2 separate regions of the Homo sapiens genome follow, and region 1 is linked to region 2. Evidence: promoter capture Hi-C in 16 types of primary human blood cells and fetal thymus (Javierre and others, 2016). All regions are on one chromosome and are shown on one strand. Each heading gives the region's core, a stretch centred on a gene start or on the middle of the fragment in contact. The rest is flanking DNA. Distances are from core to core; before and after follow the strand shown. Region 1 overlaps CRBN (cereblon). Region 2 holds the start of EGOT (eosinophil granule ontogeny transcript).

Evidence for each region. Contacts are between HindIII fragments. The CHiCAGO score rates a contact against its expected background, and 5 or more counts as called.
Region 1: a fragment that was not itself captured here is called in contact with the fragment with the promoter of EGOT in region 2 in 1 of 17 cell types (naive B cells); the score reaches 5.5 in naive B cells.

Annotation. Positions count from the first base shown.
Region 1 is chr3:3,166,841-3,170,526 of GRCh38, forward strand. It overlaps CRBN (cereblon), which reads right to left. Exons shown (of 11, transcript NM_016302.4): 5 at 794-953. Among named protein-coding and RNA genes, the nearest start is that of CRBN, 11 kb to the right of the region's middle. The HindIII fragment of the contact is 8,322 bases long and covers 1-3,686 here.
Region 2 is chr3:4,749,891-4,753,469 of GRCh38, forward strand. EGOT (eosinophil granule ontogeny transcript) reads right to left here and starts at 1,700. Exons shown (of 2, transcript NR_004428.1): 1 at 1,056-1,700; 2 at 1-120. All of the region lies in intron 44 of ITPR1 (inositol 1,4,5-trisphosphate receptor type 1), which reads left to right. The HindIII fragment of the contact is 1,839 bases long and covers 874-2,712 here.

The DNA of each region.
Region 1 (3,686 bases), core at 325-2,824, 1.6 Mb before region 2:
TGTATTTACATTAAAATATTAAATCCTCACCACTCAACAAAGGAATGATTAATAGAGAATTTTTAAGGTTACAGTGGAAACTGTCTTTCCATATTAAAAAAAAAAACTCAAAAAGCCCAATTATTCTAAATTTAGAAACTAGTAATCTTTTTCTTTAGGTAGCAATTATAAATATTAACTATACTTAAAATTGCACATCTCACAAACGAGTAGAAACAGGCTCCCTCAATTTTTTTTTCCTATGACAATTATGATTTAGTCAAAGGATATAACATAGGAATTAGTGCCCAAACAAGCAACATTTTTAAAGAGCACCTAGTCTCAAGTCAATTTCTGCGATGTCAACTGTATTTCATTAAAACACATAGCAAAAGAAACCTTTCTCTCTGGTTTGGAAGAAGGAAAACAGACTCTACTTCTCTACTACTACTCTACCCCAAAAGAATCCTCCCTTCTTTAAGATAATGGATGTTTATAACTCAAGAGCCGAACATCTAATTTGATCATAGTTTAATAAGCATTTCCCATGGAATTAAAAATCAAAAGCGATTAATATAGCTGATAAGCATAATAACAAGGATACCTTACAGCTGTGTGACATTTTATTGCTTTTGTAAACTGCTTTTACATAAAGTAGCTGCCTGTGCAATTTTTAGAGGATCAAATGTAGCTGGAATATTGCCATACAAGGTGGCTGGGTAATGAATCATGAAAGTTGTGTTTCTTTCTTAAAACAGGAAAAAAAACAACCTGTCTTCATTTTTTGAAGATGCATAAAAAATTAGTTTCTCACCTTCTGGTATTTCTGCCACCATTTATATGAACATTGGTCTTCTCTTGAGACAGGTTTTGAAGGAAATATCTGGCACTTATTGAGGGATTCTAATTGAACTGCAGACATGGTTGAAGGCAACACACATTCGGGAAGAATTTGCACTTTAGCTTGCTGGATTCTAAAATAAAGAGAACCAAGCATGGTATTCATTTCTAAGATTGACTAACTCAAAACTATAAGTTTCTAAACAGTGATAATTTTAAATACCAAGATTTTCCAAGTTTTATCTTTTAAACATATTCATCAAATACTGATGTTAAGATACAGAAACTTTCAGAAAATAATTTTATTTCATAAATCATACCAAAGTTAAAACCAAAGATAACCTAAGGTACGGATCTTCAATGTCACTGTGGAATGGAAAGGGAGATCTACACATTTCAGATAAATACAGAGTCTATAAATGAAACAAAGTTTTAAAAAAACCAACATACAACCAACTACTGCTTGATACTTCTACTTTCTTAAACATTCTTAAGACACCCAAATTCTTCTATCCCCCCACTTCTTATGCTGCTTAACTCTTACATCTATCCTTTCTCATAAGTCATCTAATCTAAGTAGAGAAAGGAAGAGAAAAATCAAGAATGCATTTACATGGATGAATTAAAATAACACTAGAGAGTTACATGCAACCTTTCTGTGTGCATTCCTTTTCACGTTCTTAAGAGTTTAACTGTACAAAGGATCAAACTATAAATTAGATTTTTTCTTAAAAGTTATTTAAAATGTCATAATAAAGTCATTTCCAAAATGCTACTTGAGAATATCATAATTGCAAACATCTTATCATGAACTAGTGCAAACAGGAAGGTTGTATCTATGAGCTATCTTCCTGTGAGGCATTCTATCTCTTAGAGTGTAGCTTCTGAAATGTAGAATATGTAACTATATTCAAATGCTAGTATATAACACTGTCAGACTGACAAAGTCAAATATATTAAAAGTCTCTGCTTTATTAGTTATACTTAAGACTTCTAAAGTAGTCTTTCATAATAACCACTGTTTGACCACAAGATATTATGGATGAAATTCTGACATTTTACTTATTTATTAGAAGGAAAAATAACTGAGTGTGTTAGAAAGTATCTAAGTTTAATTTAATGATAATAGTAGACTCACTCTACTAACTTTATTTCCTTCCTGCAAACTCATTAGAAATACTCAGAAAATTTGTCTACATGACTTCGGAAAATGTTAAAAAATTTTACTATAGTCAAATTATGGTCAAGTGTTCTTATATTATTATTAGAGCTCATTAGAAACAAAATCTCAATTTTCTTCACCTGATTCATGAACACAAATAACTTGTTAATTACATTATGAAGGTAAAAGTATATACCATCCTATAGAAATTTTTAGAAATCTGATTCTTCAAGGTTATAGGTAACTGAATTAAGAACTATGCTTTACCCAACTATTGTATAAGATTTGATTATGATAAAAACAGTAACATTATTGATCCCCTGGCTTACAGATCATGTTAATTAGTCTGCAGTACAAACTGTCTGAATTGCCTTGAAGGATTAAGGAATGCTCTCCTTTACCTGGTTAAACATGGCCAGGGTCCACTGCATATGCAGTGGCTGGTTCTTCTCCCAGCAGCTGAGTTTTGTTTTTAACATAAGCTAGTTTTTTTTCTTTCCAACTTGTTTATCACAGTTGTTTTGTGATTACAGCAACATAATTTATATAAATGTTATAAAAACCAGTGAAATATGACTTCAACAATAAAACTGCTTCAAGGAACATTAAGTTGAGACATAAACTGCTTTCAAATTAGGTACAGACTACTCTAATAGGAAAAAAACCGCACAAATCTGGAAAAATTCTGCACTCAAATTGCCTTGTGACTATCTTTAGAATCCCTCTTTAAAGAAAAACTAGCAGTATAAACTGTGGATAATGTACAATGAAAGTGCCAGAAAGTCTACAGTCATCTCCAATCTGCAGAACTGCTTCAATGGAAAGACCTTGGTCTCTCCAGATGAAAAATGAATGAATTTATAAAGTTAAAATAAAATGTTTAAGCTATATATGTGTAACATTTTGTGATTTCCAGCTTCAGCTAACTTTTTGACTAACAATTATTGGTCTCAGTCTAGACAGGTAAGAGATCTTCTCTTGTGATGCCAATAGGATATCAATCCCCTCCTCCTCTCTACATGCTAAGAAGTAGGAACTTCTGAAGAGTCCTATGTCAGTGAGACCTGTTTTTATTAAAAAAAAATTTCTATGTGTTCAGAAGATGCCCACCCCCCCTCCGCCCTCCCCAACCCACACACACTCATGACTTTGGGGGTTGTATACTTTTTTTCTTTTTTGAGATGGAGTCTCACTGTTGGCGAAGCTGGAGTGCAGCGGTATAATCTCTGCTCAGTGCAACCTCTGCCTCCCAGGTTCAAGTGGTTCTCATGCCTCAGCCTCCCGAACAGCTGGAATTACAGGCACAGGCCACCATGCCCAGCTAATTTCTTGTATTTTTAGTAGTGATGCAGCTTCACCATGTTGGCCAAGCTGGTCTTGAACTGCTGGCCTTAAATGATTCACATACCTTGGCCTTCCAGAGGGCTGAAATTACAGGTATGAGTCACCACACCTGGCCTCTGTAGTGTACTTTTAATAAATGAAGTGTCATTTAGGTAAAAGATGGATATTTATATTTTTTAATTTTTATTTTTCTATATGCTTATTTCTCTAAGAAAAACAAATGAATATTAAATATTTTACTGGAGAAAGGGAAGCTGGCTTGAGTTTCAAATGTGTTATAGAGAAATTCTGGTATAATGGAAGGAGTACCAGTTTGGAAGTCATGGGACCTAGAACCAATCAGGTCTGTCGCTTATTTGCT
Region 2 (3,579 bases), core at 450-2,949:
TCTGGCCAGGTTGGGCTGGATTTCAGGGGACCTGATTTGTGTTTCCCTGTGCAGTGCTCGTTTCCATCACCATCTTTAAGGAGGAGGCCTTTTCCATCCACTGGACTCTTACCATCGTGCCTGTTAAGGAACAAAAAGACAACTGCTTAGGCCTGGAGGGTATGTGGAAACCACCAGTTACCTTTGAATATACCTGTGGTGCTCGAACCTCCTTTAGAAAACCCAAGATGCCATTTTAATGATGCTTTGCTCTTGGGTATCAAATTTACTCCTTAATTTACCTCAGGAGATGTTCTAAGAGGAAGCCACAAGATTCCATACCTGCTGTTGTTGTTTTAGAGCTGGTGGATTTTTTTTTTTTTAATCCGCGGAGGAGGACTTGACCCTGTGGGTTCCTAACTTGGATGGCCATGCAGAGCACCCTTAACTTGGAAATCTATATCCTGCTGTTTAAACTTCAAGATGATTCCTATCTGGATTAAAGTCCTCAACCAGCAGGCCGAGGCAAACTCTAAAGAAAAACAAGGTCATGCTGCATTTTTTTTTGGTAAGCACAGGAATCAACAAAGAGATGTTATATAACTTCTATTTATATCCTCCTTGCTCACTATCTGCAGGCAGACAAGAGTCGCTGAGAAGGGATTTAATGAGCTCTCTGGGTTTGCTCACCTTCCTGAGCTGGTAGGAACCAGCTTGTTCTCAAATGCGTCAGTAAAGAATCTGGCTGTGGGTGGGCGGCCAGGGTAGGTGGACTGCGTTGTTGCTATGGTGTTTTTTAATTCCCCTGTCTCTCAAAGATCTCACTCCCCCCTTCCCTGACTCCTTCCTTTTGCCCCCTTCCTTTCTTTCTTTCTTTTTTTTTTTAAATCTGTAAGCTTCCTTGTTTCTCACACCTACTCATGATTCTTGGAGCTGTCTCCGGAAACAGAATATTTTCCCTCTCCTTCCTAAGTGCTCAGCTCCCCCATTGTGTAGCCCCGGGACATCAGAAGTTGTTTTCTAAGGTGTGTTTTTTCCACCCTCCCTTATTTCTTTTCCCATGATTTTTTTATTACCAATCCCTCCATGAGAGAGACCTATCCTAGGAGTCTTCCATCTTGCCTGATAGAAGTTTTCTCTGGCATATTCCAAATTCAGATTGCTCCAAAACCAGGTGAAGTCTGTTGCTAGTTGGACAGTCGGTATGGCCTGGAGGAGAAGGGCTGTTTGTATTTCCATGCATCCTCCTTTGTCCTCTTGCCCTGGGTGAAGCAATGACGTCTCTGTCTCCTCTAGTGCGTTATAAAATAGAACCGCAAGAAAACAAGAGAATGGGTTTACCCCACAATCATAATTCCTGGAGCTTGGGTAACTCCTGTTACCTGAAGGTTGCAGGTTGAAATGACTCAGCTTGCATTTAATTAAAAAAAAAAATGCTGCCCCATCAGATTCTCAGCAGGGACGACGAATGCACCTTGCTGAGAACCCTATGGCTGCCCAGGGAGTGGCCCCCTGCACCCTGGCCGGCCTGGTGGTGGCCACAGAGGCTTCTGAGATGGCTCTGTGTTGTCCATCACATTCCCACCAGAGCAGAGACACTTAGAAGATGTGAGTAGGGAGGTTAGGATGAAAAGTTCTTAGAAAAGAATATGTAGTTCCATGAGGACAGGCTGAAAAAATTTTTAAAAAGCCAAACCCACCTCTGCCTTGCCCAGAAGTTGTGCAATCCTTAATAGCAGTAGCCTGTTTGAATAATCAGAGGCAAGCTGACTTCCCTTTATTAACTTCTGTTAGAGACATCTGCATAAAATATCCCCGGATTCCAGACCAAGTAGGTAATTTTTTTTTCCCCTCTGAGTAACGGGAGGGACTTTCCCTTTGGAAATCTTCCAGCAGAGTTAACTTCATGGTTGAGACTGTTTTCTCATTATAAGGTGCCAACAGCTAGATTCCTGATGCAGGGACAGTGAAGGCGCCTCATGTACACACTTGGATCCCCTGCTTCCCTGAGAACTGACTTGATGTTCACAGTTGCCTCTGGTTCTTCTGCCTTGACCCTCCTTTTCACGGAGAAATCTATGCCCGCTCACATTTCCTGAGGTCCTCTGAGTTCCTCTTTGAAACTGTCAGAGGCTCTCTCAAAGTTTCTACCAATTTCCTATTCCTGGGTTTTAGACTTTTGATCAAGATGGCTCTGACACTGAAGGGGATAGTCCTGTAAACCCTCTGAAGTCTTCAAGCCTCGTTTTTCCCCTGGAATTCAGGACTTTAAAAATATATATATTTTATTGCTCTTCGAGGAGGATGTGTTGCAGTTGCCCTCACCATATGGTATTTGAGAAATATGTTTTTATTAGCCTCCTTGCAACACAAACCCACAAACTGTTGAGCCCAGAGCTTGTAGCTATCAAGTCTGGGGAGGGAGCCAGGTTTGGAGACGGAAGGTGCACAAATGATCATCCCTCCCGGGCTGTAGTTAATCATGCAAGCTGCTGTGTCACTGGGGCCGGGGTAGTTAACAGTTAACTCGATGGATTAAGGATCCTCAGCCAGGCTGAGCCCATCACAGAGTTACGTGCAAAAACCGGATAAGCCCGTAGAGGTGACAACACCACATCAGCTGCCTTTGGCTGGTCTGCGGTGTGCTGCATATTCCCACTTAGCAGGACTTTGAGCTTTCACATGCAGGCTTCTTCTGGCCATAAAGTTATACTTCAGCTGCCATGGATGCAAAGCTTGGCTTGAGTGTTTCGGAATTGCACCTCCTTCAGGATTATTGTTCATTCATTAATATAGTAAATTTTTTAAAAAGAGAGAAGAGGCCTTACTGTGTTGACCAAGCTGGCCTTGAACTCCTGGGCTGAAGAGATCTTTCTGTCTCAGCCTCCGGAGTAGCTAGAACTACTGGCTTGTGTCACCACAGCCGGCTTAATATAGCAGATGTTTACTTACTGAGCACTCCCTGGGTGTCAGGTGCTATACACATTGGCGTCAATACAGTCAGGGATGAGACCAACATAGCCCCTGCCCTCCAGGAGCTTACAGTCTTGTGGGAGACAGAGCTAGGAAATCAGCTCATCATCAGCTAAATCAGAGCTTCAGAGAAGTGTGATGGGGAAGCAAACAGGCGCCACGAAGCGTGGCCAGGGAGGGCTTCTCTGGGGAGATACCGTTCAAGCTGAGACCCAACAGATGCGAAGAGAAGGAGCTGTGTGAAGAGTAGCAGAGGGCAAGAGTATTTCAGAAGAGGGTTGGCTTGTGCTTGGGATGTTGGAGGAGCTGAGTGAAGGAAGCTAACGCGGTCTACCCCATGGTGGTCGGTCAGGGGCAGAGCTGCGGAAAGTATCTGCTCCACCAGGGTGATGGGCTTGTCATCAAGTCGGGGCTGGATGAGGTGATCTCTGTGGTTCCCGCCGATCCCTAGTCGGTGCTTCTAAAGGGCACCAAGTTGGCTTGGGCCTGTCCCCTGCTTGGATATGCGCTGCCGCCGCCAAAGCCCTAATATACAAAGCAGCTTTACCCAGATGAGTGCTGTGTGATTTCACCCTGCCCTGCTCTAACCGCTTGGCCATCTGTACATCTTACTGTCAGCTGCCAGGG